2 separate regions of the Homo sapiens genome follow, and region 2 is linked to region 1. Evidence: promoter capture Hi-C in 16 types of primary human blood cells and fetal thymus (Javierre and others, 2016). All regions are on one chromosome and are shown on one strand. Each heading gives the region's core, a stretch centred on a gene start or on the middle of the fragment in contact. The rest is flanking DNA. Distances are from core to core; before and after follow the strand shown. Region 1 holds the start of GDF6 (growth differentiation factor 6). Region 2 has its middle 11 kb from the start of INTS8.

Region 1 (7,897 bases), core at 1,828-4,327:
CTCTGTTTCCTCACCTGTAAAATGATCGCTGCAGCCCTTTCAGGCAAAGACCAGCTAGAACTTTTCTTGCAAAGACCCGAGGCTGATAGCGATGACGGAGGGTAATGTCAGCCCCAGGGGAATCCTGAAGGACAACAGACCATGGCCTTTGTGGTCCCTGTTTCAGTGTCATTTACTGTTCCGTGTGGCTCCATCTAGCAGGCTGAGAGGTCCTAAACCACAGCAATAGGCTCATTACTTTGTTTCCTGTTTACTGATAACTTGCAGCAGATAATAATTGCTGTGGGCAAAATGAAGAGAGAACACATAGAGTTGCCTCTGCAGGCAGGAAACATACAGTACTTATTGGATGGAGGGTCTGAAACTGTAAAACTATGAATCATTGTTAACCAGGCACCATACTGATAGAAATTAAAATATTGATAACACAAACCACAAGTGTTGTTTCCTGGGGAAGGGATGGAAATAGATCACAAGGAGGGCACTTTCCCGGATGACACTTGAGAGGCAGACATACAGAGCAAGACACAGGGCAGGCCAAAAAAGACCACTTACATCCCACAGGCGACAGGTAGGCAGGGGGGAAATGTTCCTTCTGCAAATGAGAAATGGGGAGTTTTGAGTCTGTGGTTTTACAGAGATTGCATTTGCAGGCCAGCAGAGGGGCAGTGAAGGGGGGACATAGGGGAGAGACATCGAAGGCAGTGGATTTGGTTGTAAAATGTTAAGTGACAAGGGAGGAATCCAACATAATATCTATCCCTGGATTACAATAATATGAAAAGGATATGTGCATAACAAATAAAGAAGGAGTGGAAGGGAACCCAAAAGGTAAAAACATTTGGATTTGTTGTAGTGGCAAAAATTTGAGAAATAATTTTTTCTTTCAGTTTATCTCCTTTTATTTTATTTTATTGTAAATATTAACAAGCCATTTTAAAGCACAGAGAGAGGAAGGAAGAAAATATTATAGTAAAAGCACCTTCAAGTATAAGGTCTCAGAACTTGACAACCATGAAACCCAAACTAGGGGACATAAGTAGAATTGGGATAGGGCCAGAAGGGGCATCCACGGAGACCAAGGGGAGAGCAGCCAAGCTCAATAGCCCAGTGATTAAGAGCCCAGACTCTGGAGTAGTGTGACCCTGGGCCTCACTTTCCCTATCTGTAAAATAGGAATAATACAGCACTTATTTCAGGATTGCTGTGAAGATTAAGTAAAATAATATTGGCGAAGGGCTTCAAACCATGACTGACACACAAGTTCTCTGTGGGTGCTTGCCATTACCTGGAGGAGGCCAGTGTCCAGGGTGGAGGGCATATCCCAGACCTTAAGGAAGTTAAAGGATGAGGGGAGCAGCGCAGCAAAACTCCCTCCCCCTGCAGGCTGTCATGTGAGTGGTCCCTGCAGGACAGAAGAGGTGATGAAAAAGCAAAAGGAAGAAGGGGTTAGAAAGTGAGAGGGAGGAGATTGGAGAGACTGGGAACACACACAGAAAGTAGCATGGCGGAGAAAGAAGCCACCTGAGATCAAGTGAAACCATAAAGAGAAGAAAAAAGCCAGAACTGAAATAGAGAAGTTGGGCCAGGAATGACTGTCTATGCTGTAGTGGGAAGAATCTTGGGCTTGGGGTGGGAGCCTGGGTTCTGTCCCTTGCTGCATAACCTCTTGGCAGAGTGGCCTTGGAAAAGTCACTTATTTCCATTGAGTCTTTTTTTTTTCCATCCGTGAAGGTGAAAATAGTCAACGCCAACCTCACAAAGCTGTTGGCACGATTAAAGGAGGGTACTTTATGGTTGGTGCCTGAGCACCCAATCAGTACTGAGGGAAACTCTTCTGCCCATAGCAGTCCAGGGCAGAGCACTGTGGCAGACAGAAGCAGCGCTACGCCGCATCGCCTTTCAGCGTGCAGGCCCAGGAATGAGCGAGGCAGTGGGCGGGGAAGACAGGCACGGGGAATCTGGGGACAGATAAAGGAAACTCGTGATGGGGCGAGGCTGGGCTGAAGAGAAACAGATTGGGGTAGAGCTGCAAAGGGAGGGGTCCACTGGAAGGCGAGGGGGGAGGCCGGGAAGAGAGAGGGTGGGAAGGCAGTGTGAGATGGGAGGGCAGTGTGAGAAGAAAAGCAGGCTGGGGAAGAGGGATTGGAATGCAGAAGGAACTTGGGGAAGGAGGAAGTCCTGCAGGCGGGAGGGAAAGAAGAGAGGGAAAATGGGGATGCAGTGGAGGCGGGGGGCAGGCCGCGAGAGGGAGAGGATCCCGGGAGCAGACGAAGAAGTGGAGCAGCTAAAGTCTGCGTCAGAAGAGGTTGGGGACTGCGAGAGGAGAGGCTGGGGCCTGCAGGGGAGCGCAGCAGCTTTTAGCATCGATCCAAACTCTAAAGACTCGTGGCCTTTGCCTGACCTCGAGGGTCGGGAATAGACGCCTGTCTTTGTGGAGAGCGATACCCAACCGAGAAAATGGGGCTGTTCCGAGCTGGGCCCTGCGCCTGGCCCAGGGCGAGGCTTCTCTGGCTCCGGGCTGGCCCCTGAGGGGCGCAAACGGCAGGCCTGGCGGTTGGGGCCGAGGAGGGAGGGTACCACCGCCCCGAGGCAGCACGCAGCCTGCAGCAGAGGCGCCTGCTCCAAGCTGTCTCTTGGGGGCGCCGCCGCCGCTTCCCTCCTCCGGGGCCGCTCGCTCCCAGGAAAGTGGAGGCGGCTGGCGAGGACCGAGAGCCGGGGCCGCGCTGCGGAGGGACCACACCTCCGGGAGTTCGAGGGGGACCCTGGCGCGGCGGGCCAGCCTTTGCTCCCCGGCCACGGGCCGGCAGCGCCCGCCTTCCCCCGGTCAGCGCTTGCGGCCCGCGCCGCGCGCACCGCCCGGCAACCCCGCGCGCGTCCCGCGGGGGCGCTGCGTCTTCCTGCCACACCGGCGCACCGCGGCCCCTCTCCCCCACACCTCCGGCCCGCACCACCCGGCTCTCCTCCCACCCTCCCCACCCCTCCTCTGCCCTCCCTCCCCATTCCTCCCCTCCCGGCGAGGGGCGGGAGGGGGCGTGGCGGGGCCGGGGTTTGTGTGGCTGGGACCCGGCTCCTCGCACTCCGAGTCCGCCCGAGGAGCCGGGCCCCGGCCGCTGTCCAGCCGCTCCGTGCCCCGCGCGTCCTGCGCCGCCGCCACCGCCTCCTGGGGAGACGCAGCCACTTGCCCGCCATGGATACTCCCAGGGTCCTGCTCTCGGCCGTCTTCCTCATCAGTTTTCTGTGGGATTTGCCCGGTTTCCAGCAGGCTTCCATCTCATCCTCCTCGTCGTCCGCCGAGCTGGGTTCCACCAAGGGCATGCGAAGCCGCAAGGAAGGCAAGATGCAGCGGGCGCCGCGCGACAGTGACGCGGGCCGGGAGGGCCAGGAACCACAGCCGCGGCCTCAGGACGAACCCCGGGCTCAGCAGCCCCGGGCGCAGGAGCCGCCAGGCAGGGGTCCGCGCGTGGTGCCCCACGAGTACATGCTGTCAATCTACAGGACTTACTCCATCGCTGAGAAGCTGGGCATCAATGCCAGCTTTTTCCAGTCTTCCAAGTCGGCTAATACGATCACCAGCTTTGTAGACAGGGGACTAGGTAAGTGGCAAAGAAAACGCTCGACTCCCCTCCCGCTGGAGCTCGGCAGCCAGGGAGCTGTTCCCGCTGGAGGCTACATTTGTGAATTCCCTTCCTGCTCTGGACACTTCCTTTTTACTTTTCTTAAATTGTTTTTCTCAAGCTCGAGTAAGTTTCTGAATGTGGCTGCGGATTCTATTCCAGTCTCTAAACCTCCCTTCCTTTCCCCCCCTTTCTTTCTCTCTCCCTTCTTTCCTTCTTCCTCTTTTGCAGAAGGCAGCGTGGTTGCCGCTTGTTGGTGGCTGGTGGGGGAAACGTGGAGGACGGGAGGCAGCAGGCGGATGAACCCGGCTGGAGAGGGGTCGGGATGGGGACTGATGGAATCGGTGTCTCGGGATACTGGGTTCGCAGTCCAAGGCCTGAGCTGCTGGGGCAGATCTAGGGCATGAGACAGCCTTGGAAAGCCCTGGGCAAAGCCGGCACTAGGGAGTCCCACAGTCTGAGGAACTAGTCCGCGAGCGGCGTCGGGCAGCCCCCTGGTCCTGGCGCCGCGCGGGTTTTCCGTTGGTCCCTGCGCTGGGTGGGATGGTCAGCCGGGCTGGAGCCCTGCGCCCTCCGGCTTTTTTGCTCCAGCGTGGTGCTCCCGGCTGCTCCGAGGCCTCAACACGAGTGGTTTCTGCAGATGCGGCGGCAGCAGTTGGGCGGGCCGGGACAGGGACGGCTAAGTTCGGAGGTTGTGGGTACTTAATACACAAAGGTACATGGGTATGCCCATCCACCTTTCTCAGCCAGGCGACGTTCCTCTCTCTACGCTATTCCTGAGGGCTGGTGGGGGTCTGGGAAATCCCTGGTACCCTCTGTGGGAACGCCTGCATGTGTGGGTGTCTGCGGAAACCCTTGCGGCCCCTTCTTGCCACCGGCGTTGATCTGCAGCGTGGCCAGTGCCCTCAAGAAAACCTCGCACCACCTCTGGTCCCAGAAATCAGGGAAGGATCCACAGGCATCGGAAACTAAGCTCCTAAAGGAGAGAGACAATAATGTGGAAGGAGACAGGAAAGGAAGGGAGAAAAAGGAAAGGAAGAGTAAAGAGAAGGAAGGAAGAAAATGACGGGATAAAAGCGATTTAGGCAGATATCCACTCCTCCATCCTCCCTAGACTTAGCTCCATGACTTTGACCTGCTCCCAGTTAAGTGGGGTTGCCCGGAAACCTTGCAGCGCTGGGGTTCGGGATTCGGAAGCTGCTTCAGCCACTGCTACCCTGGGTGCTCGCACATCTCTTAAGCTTTTTAGAGCAGGCTAACGGCCCCCCCGCCCCCAGCCCCGAGCTCTTCCCCGGCTCCAGTCCCCGCCTCTCACTCATAGTCGCGTTCCTTGCTCGAGGGTCTCGCCGCTGCAGCCCGAGGTCAGCGAGGTTCATGAGCTGCTGAAAGGTCCAGAGGGCAAATTAACGCCAGGTATTTTATGATGATTTTAGGGCTACTAAAGTCACCTTTGCAAAGACATGTGGCTTCTTCGTAGTAGTGCAACTGAGTCCCTGGCCTCCGTGCTGCCCGTGCAGCTCGCCAACCCTCCCCACGACGCACGCCTTGCTACAGTTGTTTCTGTCCCTCAAAGTCCTCTGTTAATCGTGCACTTTCTCTACTACAATTGCGGAAGGAGGCTAAGGAAGCTCAGAGAAGACTGCTCAAGAGGCCCTTCCTCAAGAGAAGAAGTCCCAGAGGCCTAGGCTGGCCGGCGGTTGGGCGCGGATTTTCTTTGCCCGGGAATGAAGTGGCAAGAATCTCTGCCCCTCCCCCAAGTGGGCACCATAACTGGTTCGCTGCGCCCTGTGAATTTGGCACAGGACCAAAAGACCCTGCGGGCTGTTCGGAGGTGTCTCCGGAAGCCTGTGGCATTCAGACAAGGGTTGGGGAAAAGTCTTGGGGGCCCCAATCCGGCGTAGACGCGAAATCACTTTACCCTGGTTTGCCCTGTAGCCTCCCCACCCCCATCCCCGCCACTGCGCTGTATGCCCCCGATCCTGGAGATAGAGGAGGGATTGCATGTGCACCCAGTCTGGGGAGGCCTCTGTTCCCGAGCCAAGGCCTCCAGACTAGCAGGACCGAGATCCACAAGTACCGCTACAACCCCGGAATGCGGTGGAGGGCTGGGGATGCGAGCGGTCCACAGCGGGAGGAGACGCTGCATGACCACCCGGACAGCATCTTCAAAGGCGCTGTCTCCTCCGCGTCTCCGGGTTCTCAGAAAATGCGAAGAAAGGCAGTTCGTTGACTGGGAAGGCGGTGCGGCTTGTCGCACGCCGCGCGGGGGTGAAGGAGTGCGGAGCCACGGGCGGGAGGGGTGCGCAGAGGAGGGGGTGCGTTGCTGGCTGCAGCCCCAGCTTGATAAAGGGAAAGCCTCACTTTCCCTCTCACTGATTTTGATTTGATGTGTCACCGGCGGTGACCTCAGGCTGGACCTTCCGGGGCTTGCTTAGCATCGGGCCCCTGATTGGAGTGTTTCAACTCAGCGATCTAATTGAGGGTTCATGTCATAACACATCAAACGGTGTCTCGTCTCCCGTGATGGAAGGGACCCGCCAGCCGCGCATCCCCGGCTCCTGGCAAGGACTTCCGCCCCTCTCACGTGGGGCTCTTAACCGCGCCAACCCCCCTAGGGTCCCCTCCCCCAACGCGTGGACGGCCTGGCGAGGAGGAAAGAGCAGCGGCCCGCCTAGAGCTGGGCCAGCAGCGCTAACTTGGCGCCTTGCCTAAGGGATGTTTAAATCGCCGTCGAGTGGGGCTGGCCTGGCTCGGTGGAGCCGGGGGTCCCCCAAGGGGAGGAGCGAAGAAAAGGAAAGGAGCCCCGAAGTCAGTCCAGGAGGCATGGGCGACTTGCTCCTGTACAGTATCTGTAAAAAGCCTTCCTTACCCCGGAAACCCCAAAGTTACACCTGAAGCCTATGGTTGAGAGTGGGAGAACAGGCATAAACTCTGCCCAAAGTGAATGAAGGACGCTTTAGGTTTATAAAGAAAGCAAGTTCTGTACTCCATCCCAGGCCACTTCTCCCTATCCTCCAGGAGGAGAACTTATTGGGGAAAAAAAAAAGAAACCAAACAAACCTAAAACAGGTCCCTTCTTTCAGTATGCTCTCCAGACACCTAGGAGTAATAATAGTAACCACGATTTATTGAAAATTTACTGTGTACCAAGCATTGCACTAAAATTGGTTACATGAATTATCTCGCTTAGTTATCACAACCACTTCCTAGGAAAACGCTATCATCACCACGTTTTACAGGTGAAGTAAAGAAGACAGAGGAGTTAAGCAAGTTGCTCGAGGTCACACAGCTAGCGAGAGGTGGGGCCTATATAAGATTCGAGACCCTGCATGTTTAACTAGAGCACTGTATAGATAGTTTAAGTGGTGAGGTGGTTTCTAATGGATGATGACAAGAAGCAGAAGTCAAAAAATGGAAAGATTTTCCCCCAGTCTAATATTTGTCTGCAGTCACTTAAGACCCAGTTAGGAGTGTGAGTGAAACTAGATGTGAGGGTCTGAATTTTGGTGTGCTTTGCTTCCTCCTGTTCTTATTTTAGCAGATGCACAAACCATATTATCCCTGATTTTTAAAAATGCTCTTATATTGTGCTTTAAAAATGATGTTGGATCCATAAAGGTGAGAAGGTGTGTGCCTGTGTGTTTAGGTGCCATCATGGGATGAGAATGGACAAGGTTGGATATGATGAAATTACAATTTGCTCATGAAATAACTCATTAAAAGGCTACTAGTACTGGGGCCCTGGACCCCCAGCCCTGGGGCCTGGGAAAGCCAGACAATTAGTTCTATGAATTTAGCAGGGCTGAGAGATAGAGGGGAGGGAGGAAAAGAGAGAGACAGAGAGAGAGAGAGAGAGGGAAAGAGAGAGAGAGAGAGAGAGAGAGAGAGGGAAAGAGAGAGAGAGAAAGAGACTGACTGATTCAGACTTTCAGTTTATGTAGGGAAAGGTGCCACATAATTCCAACAAGGAGAAAAAACAACTCTCAAGAATGAGAGAACCGAAATGAGTCTAAGACTATTGCTGTGAGTTAGGTTTCCAGATGGCTTTGAAATAAGAATACCCTTTACTTTTTTCTTGTTGTAATAATATTCTCAAAAAGGAGGCAGTAAGGAACAGATAAAAACCAAAACGAGATGGGAACATCCTTGAAGAACTTGATGCCCTAGAAATAACTCTCAGGACAGTTTGCCACTGATTGTTTGTTGGCTTCTCCATTCACCTTCTGGGTCGTGATTACCAAAGGGCAGAGCAGGACCATTCTGGGAATAGCCCGGCTGCG
Region 2 (7,897 bases), core at 2,395-4,894, 1.3 Mb after region 1:
ATGTTATTCAAAAACATGAAGGATCTAAATAAATGGAGAGAAAAATTCTGCTCCTAGAGAGGGAGGCTGATTACTGTATTCTCAAATTTATCTACAGATTCAGTGAAATGATAATAAAAGTTCCATCAAATTTGTATGCTATTTGTTTATTTACTTATTTATTATTTTTTTAAGACAGAGTCTTGCTCTGTCACCCAGGCTGGAGTGCAGTGGCACAATCTCGGCTCACTGCAACCTCTGCCTCCCAGGTTCAAGCAATTCTCCTGCCTCAGCCTCCCAAGTAGCTGGGACTAACCACCACGCCCAGCTAATTTTTGTATTTGAGTAGAGATGGGGTTTCACCATGTTGGACAGGCTAGTCTCAAGCTCCTAACCTCAGGTCATCCGCCCTCTTCGGCCTCCCAAAGTGCTGGGATTACAGGCGAGGGCCACTGTGTCCAGCCGGTTTTTTTGTTTGTTTTTAAAAATAGTTGTAAATACATGAAAAAAATTTAAGAACAGTATAAAGAACTCTCCTATCCCCTTCACCCAAATGTGTCCATTGTTAATATTTTACCATACTTCCTCTCACCCTCTCTCCACAACAGCTCCCTACTTCCTTGTATACTGGGTAGAGTGACCAACTCTCTTAGTCCATTTTGTGCTGCTATAATGGAATACCTGAGACTGGGTAATTTCTAAGGAACAGAAATTTATTTCTCACATTTCTAGAGGCTGGGAAGTCCAAGATCAAGGTTTAGCCTCTGGTTCTGAGATGTCACCTTGTTGCTGCATCCTACAGAGAGGACTGCTGTGTCCTCACACAGCAGAAAGGCAGAAGAACAAGGGAGAACGAACCACTCCTGCAAGCCCTTTTTTATGGCAGCATTCATACTTTATGAGGGCAGAGTCCTCACGACCTAAACACCTCCCAAAAGGCCTCACCTCCCAATACTGTTGCATAAGAATAATTATGTTTCCAACACATTAATTTTGGAGGAGGCAAAAACATTAAAACCATAGCACCAACTCATCCCCGCTTGGCCAGGACTATGTCAGTTTTAAAACTGAAAGTCCTGCATTCCGGTAACCCCTCAGTGTGGGCACACTCTAACCCCAGGCACACCACCTGTGCAACCACACCCCTCACCTTGTCCCCATCTGCTTGGATACTGCGTGCTGACATCTCCACATGGAGAAGATGAGAAAGGAAGCTTGTAGTTAATTATCAATTAGTCAAACAGCCTGGAAAATGTCACAAGGCCTGAAATGTTCTAGAGTGTTTAGCTTCAGATCAAGGAAAAATTCACAAATGAGGTGGTAGCAGATTTAGTAACATCATAAGAATAAGTGAAATTCTGGCAAACCCCTTTTATAGTGATAATTATGTATTTGCAGGGCCCCTGGCAAGGTTCATATGCTGTATATGTTTACCAGTTACCATCAAGTAGAAGTTTCTGTTTTATGTTGATCATAAACCACAGTATCTAGTCCTGCTCTCCTCCTTCATGATAGTTTAAAATGTTTTCTTTTACATCCTCCCTGCTTCCTTGTTATTCTGGTAGCTCAGAGACTCGTTGCCTCTGAAATCTGGGTCTCTACAAAGTACAGCAAACTAGATGAGCTACAGTGAAAAAATAAAAATAAAAAAGCAGAGATATTATACAGTCTAAGGATGAAAATTATTTTCACCAAGGACTTCTGAAAATCACATAAATAAAAAAATAAACTAGGACGGGCACGGTGGCTCACGCCTATAATCCCAGCACTTTGGGAGGCTGAGGCGGGTGGATCACCTAAGGTCGGGAGTTCGAGACCAGCCTGGCCAACATGGTGAAACCTCATTTCTACTAAAAAATAAAAAAATTAGCTGGGGGAGGTGGCGCACGCCTGTAATCCCAGCAAATCGGGAGGCTGAGGCAGGAGAATCGCCTGAACCCAGGAGGCAGAGGTTGCAGTGAGCCGAGATCGCGCCGCTGCACTCCAGCCTGGGCAACAGAGACAGACTCTCTCTCGAAACAAACAAAAAACTTGAAATCGGTTAATTTCTTTGGTATTTCTTTAAAAAAATATGCAATACAATTCAGACATAAACATACAATTTAAAACTTTATTCAATAAATATTTTTGAGGTGGGGGAAACTGGCTGATGGATTCTACTGCCATCTTGTGGCCATTAGGGATAGTGTCCATATCTACCGGTAATACCGGCTGGCTGGTATCACCTCTTCCTTATACTTTCCAGTATGGAAGAAGGAATATGACTTGAGGATTGTGATTGGAAGTAACTAATTCTTTGTACAAGCTATCCTGCAACACCTAACTGAATTACATCTTGTTAGGGACTTCCAAAAACAGATCTGTCAAGAGGTAATAAGCGAGTCCTACCAAACATGACTTTTCTCTGCGGTCTTCACTACCTCCTTGGACAGGTAGGCACCCTGTTGTATGTGGCCATAGAGCTGTGCATCCCGGTCATGGCATTCATATCACCTCCTTGCAGTTACCTATTTAACAGTCTCACTTCCCCGGTAGACTCCAAGATCTTGGAGGTGGGGGTGGGGGAGAGCAGAATGGTGGTTATACCGTTTACCTGGTACAGCCTCTAGTACACAGCAGGCACCCAGTAAATATTTGCTAAATAAATAAATCTTTTATTAAACACAAAGCACCTGCCTTTTACATGCATGCAAATGCTTCCCTATAAACCAGATCTACAAACCTTTATTTAATCTTTGCTTTATCTAACCTAAAGCATTATTAACCTGTTCTTAAGATATTTATGACTCACTCTATTGTCTAGGTTTTATAATCAGCAATAAACTTAAAGCTTGTTGGGGCTCAGAAAACGATACCCTAAAATGAAGGCCCCAGAGACATAAGTTTCTCTCTGACCCTCTCCTGACCTCCTGTCTCTGGACCATCATTCTCCCCTAAGGCTTGCCATAGAAACCAGAACCCCTTTTCCCTGGAGCTAGCCATCAAACCTAATAATATTACTCTAACTTCACCCTCCCACCCATTTTTCTGTGTAAAAACTGACATTAAAAAATTATGTGAGCTACCTTGGTTTTGGGGGTTTTGTTTGTTTGTTTGTTGCTTTTTGAGACGGGGTCTCACTCTGTCATCCAGGCTGGAGTGCAGTGGTGCAATCTTGGCTTACTGCAACCTCTGCCTCCCAGGTTCAAATGATGCTCCTGCCTCAGCCTCCCTAGTAGCTGGGACTACAGGCGCACACCACCATGCACATCTAATTTTTGTATTTTTAGTAGAGATGGGGTTTCACCATGTTAGCCAGGCTGGTCTCGAACTCCTGACCTCAGGTGATCCACCTGCCTCGGCCGCCCAAAGTGCCCAGCTATGTTGTTTGGTTATAGGTCATGAGACCCCCATTCCAGAGAGGGTGCTGCCCTGTCCCCAGTAGGAAGGAATGCTGCACTGAGAAGCCAAGAAGAATCTAGACAGACCTTGCAGGGTGTCCCCACTCAGTCTATTATGGTTAAGTCATACTCTTTTTGTCCAATTACATCTGTACATGGCTGTTCATACTTTGTTGAAACTAAGCATACAATGGACAGGTTCCCCGGTATCTTTGAGTCTTCATTCTGAAGGCTCTCATGTCACAAAAAGCTATGATCAAATAAACTTATATGCCTTTTCTTCTATTTACCTGCCTTCTGTTAGCTGATTTTCAGTGAACCTTCAGAGGATGAAGCAGAAGTTTTCCTTTACCTCTACAGCTCTTCCAAGCAGTGTCCATGTCTATACATCTGTATTTGTGTTATCCATACAGCACCTAGCTGAATGGATAACCGAATGTAGGCCTTATTCACCTAATGGAAGGAACAGGTGTGTCCTTATTGCCATGACATAGCCAGAGCAGAGGTCATTCCACTTTCATCTGGCAACCGCCTGCTACCTTCCTTTATAACCTTCTGTACAGTGATTGCTATAGTTTGGATGTTGTCCCTTCTAAATCTCATGTTGAATTATAATCCCCAGTGTTGGAGAAGGGGCCTAGTGGGAGGTAACTGGATCATGGGGGTGGATTTCTCATGAATGGTTTAGCACCATCATCTTGGTGTTGTCTTTGTAATACTGAGTGAGTTTGAGATCTGATTGTTTAAAAGTGTGTGGTACTTGGCCGGGCGCAGTGGCTCATGCCTATAATCCCAGCACTTTAGGAGGCCAAGGTGGGCAAATCACTTGAGGTCAGGAGTTCTAGTCCAGCCTTAACAACGTGATGAAACCTCCATTAAAAATACAAAATTAGCCAGCCATGGTGGCACATACCTGTAATCCCAGCTACTCGGGAGGCTGTGGTAGAGGTCGCAGTGAGCTGAGATTGCGCCACTGCACTCCAGCCTGGGTGACAGAAGGAGACTCTGTCTCAAAAAGAAGAAAAAAAATGTGTGATACCTCCCCTGAACTCTCTTGCTCTTGCTCTCACCCTGTGAGATGCCTGCTCCCCTTTGCCTTTTGCCAGGATTGGAAGCTTCCTGAGGCCTCCCCAGAGGCAGATGGCAGTACCATGCTTCCTGTACAGCCTACAGAACAGTGAACCAATTAAATCTCTTTTCTTTATAAATTATCCAGTCTCAATTATTCCTTTATAGCAATGCAAGAATGGCCTAACAAAAAGATAGACAGGCTTGATTGGGGACTGGGCCAGACAGACTCCTCCGTCTCCATTTCTGCATTGCCAGGCTCACTGTGGGGAAGGGCTCAGTTCTTCAGACTGGCTAGTGGTCTGTCATGTACATTCGACCAGCTGGCATCTAGAGGAGAAGTCACAGGAGCTTTCATGTTAGTCTCTCTTTTTGTTTTTACTTCCAAGTACTATATGTTTACACTAAAGGCTTTAAAGCATAAAAATCTCTCTGCATACAGATAAACAGGACAAAATTTTAAGGTGTGCTTTTAGAGTCAGAACTTTCCTGACATTCTCAGTAGGTAGAAAAAGATTGTCATATTAAAATACTATCAGGATACCACAGGCTGTATTTACTCCTGTATTTCCCCATGCTGTTGAAAGATCATAATTGTCTGTGGTAGGCACACAGCTCTTAGCAAGCAGTTGACTTCATTCGTTATAATGGAATAAGCCAAGTTTCCAAAGTCTTATCCAGACAATTTCAGAATTAGAGCAGATGAGCATGTGCGGGCAAATAATGTGATTTCTTCAAATATCCAGTTCTTAGACCACATACACACAAAGCAGAGAACAGAGATATTCAAAGTATGGTTTGAAGACTGGTGTCAGCTCCTAAACTGTTTCTGGTCGGTATCAAGATAAGCACGGGAATTGACAGTATGAATTTACAAATTTTTACTGCAATTTGACATTGTCTTGATAGCCAAGTTAATGATCAGTGGTCTTGTCTGGGGGAGCAGGGACAGAAGAGTTTGGGTGTTGGGGGACTTGGGTGGCAAATTCAACATGCAGAGCTGGGAACTAGTCCTAAACGGTAGGACCACATATCAGTGTGCAACAGATTGCAACATGGAACACAAAATAAAACTGCTTCTCCACCATAGATATTTCGAGAAGCACTATTCTTTTTTTTTTTTTTTTTTTTTTTGAGACAGAGTTTTGCACTTGTTTCCCAGGCTGGAGTGCAATGCCGCAATCTCTATCTCGGCTCACCGCAACCTCCGCCTCCTGGGTTCAAGCGATTCTCCTGCCTCAGCCTCCCGAGTAGCTGGGATTACAGGTATGTGCCACCACGCTTGGCTAATTTTGTATTTTGAGTAGAGACGGGGTTTCTCCATGTTGGTCAGGCTGGTCTTGAACTCCCGACCTCAGGTGATCCTCCCGCCTTAGCCTCCCAAAGTGCTGGGATTACAAGCGTGAGCCACCACACCCGGCCGAGAAGCACTATTCTCTAGAATTCATATGGAAGAAATTCTCAGCCACACTTATTTACACATTCCTTCATATTTTTTGATAGAGATGGAAATCTTGCCCTGTTGCCCAGGCTGGTCTTGAACTCCCGCCCTCAAATGATCCTCCTGTCTTAGCTGGGATTACAGGCATATGAGCCATCTCCTTGGGCCTCTCAGCCACATTTAACAAAATTGAAGTTCACTGTACTGTAGAGATGGGGTTTCACCATGTTGGCCAGGCTGGTCTCGAACTCCTGACCTCAAATGATCCTCCCGCCTCAGCCTCCCAAAGTGCTGGGATTAAAGGCATGAGCTGCAGTGCCTGGCCTAAGAGTTGATTTTTTTTTCTTTTTTTGTTTTTTGAGACAGCCTCGCTCTGTCACCCAGGCTGGAGTGCAGTGGTGCGATCTCAGCTCACTGCAAGCTCCGCCTCCTGGGTTCACGCCATTCTCCAGCCTCAGCCTCCCAAGTAGCTGGGACTACAGGCGCCCACCACCACACCTGGCTAATTTTTGTACTTTTAGTAGAGACGGGGTTTTACCGTGTTAGCCAGGATGGTCTCAATCTCCTGACCTCGTGATCCACCTGCCCCAGCCTCCCAAAGTGCTGGGATTACAGGCGTGAGCCACCATGCCTGGCCTCTAAGATGATTTTTAAAGAAGAATAATATTAGACCTAGATATAAGTATGCTATTACAGTGCTATTTATAAAAGCAAAACAAATAGTAAGAAATTAAAAAAATAACCACAATGTTCTATAGCAGGGGAATAATTAAAGCAGTGTATTTCACCACAAAATGAGACATTGTATAATAACACAATTTTTGCTTTTGGAGAATAATATATACATAATTATATAAATTTTATAAATATTATATAGTTTATATAAATGTCATACATATGATACATATATGTTCATGATAAAATATAAAGCATAAAAGCAGGACCAAAAAAGGGTACAGAAAATTTTCCTAATTTTGTTAAAATTAGAAACACACACACACAAACACAATACAGTCTGTAAAGAAATATACCAAACAAATCAATATAGGGGCCATCTCTGCACAGTGGAACTCAACAGTACAGCAGTTGTCTCAGGTGATTTTGTGGCTCTCCAGGACTCCAGGAAGCTGGAAACTAATGCTTTTCAGGGACATATGCAACGACTCTCCTTTTTCCCTAGAGGAGGCTGTGGCTCTAAGTCTGGTTCACAAACCAGGCAAGCCCAGGGTTTGTAAACATTCCCACTGGTGGCCACACATTCATGGTTGGATAGGTTCTCCCACGGAGGGCAGAGAAAGCCCCACAGATGCCTGTGATACAGAAGGAAATTTAGCTTCTCTGGTTTGGCCACATAGTGCCAGTAAGATTTTGCATTCATGACTAATTAAATCAAGATCTCAATTAACCTGAAGGTAAGAGTCATGTATAAATAAATGTGTGTGCACTCAAATGGTTTCTCCCCCACAATCCTCAGTCCACTTGAATTTCACACTTTTTTCTTTATAGGTTTCTCTCTTTTCCTGATTTCCTACACTGATCATGGATTGCTTTTGATCCATACTATTTAAGGATAGAAAAAACTAGCAGACAGAGGCAGCTTAGCCATTAGGTGAGGAGCAATCACCCAGGGCTCCCCAAAGTCCAGGGTGTTACTAGGCCATAGACTTCAACTGTCAGCACTGTGGCCTTCGAGCCTAACAAGAAAATATGAAAGATCAACCATTGTTTGTAAACACATTCCTGCTCCTCTAAAAAAGAATGAGATCCTGTCATTTGCAATAACATGGATGGAACTGGAGATCATCAAGTAAAATAAACCAGACACAGAAAGACAAAGTTCACATGTTCTCACTTATTTGTGGGAGCTAAAAATTAAAACAATTTAACTTATGGAGATAGAGAGTGGAAGGATGGTTAGCAGAAGCTGGGATGGGTAGTGAGGGGTGGGGGGAGGTGGGGATGGTTAATGGCTACAAAAAAATAGAAAAAATGAATAAGACCTAGTATTTGATAGCACAACAGGGTTACT

The links. Contacts are between HindIII fragments. The CHiCAGO score rates a contact against its expected background, and 5 or more counts as called.
Region 2: a contact is called between a fragment that was not itself captured here and the fragment with the promoter of GDF6 in region 1, in 2 of 17 cell types (total B cells and naive B cells). The highest score is 12.6, in total B cells.

Annotation. Positions count from the first base shown.
Region 1 is chr8:96,155,986-96,163,882 of GRCh38, reverse strand. It overlaps GDF6 (growth differentiation factor 6), which reads left to right and starts at 3,077. Exons shown (of 2, transcript NM_001001557.4): 1 at 3,077-3,596. The coding sequence starts at 3,191. The HindIII fragment of the contact is 9,891 bases long and covers 1-4,860 here.
Region 2 is chr8:94,807,909-94,815,805 of GRCh38, reverse strand. No RefSeq gene overlaps it. Among named protein-coding and RNA genes, the nearest start is that of INTS8, 11 kb to the left of the region's middle. The HindIII fragment of the contact is 1,665 bases long and covers 2,812-4,476 here.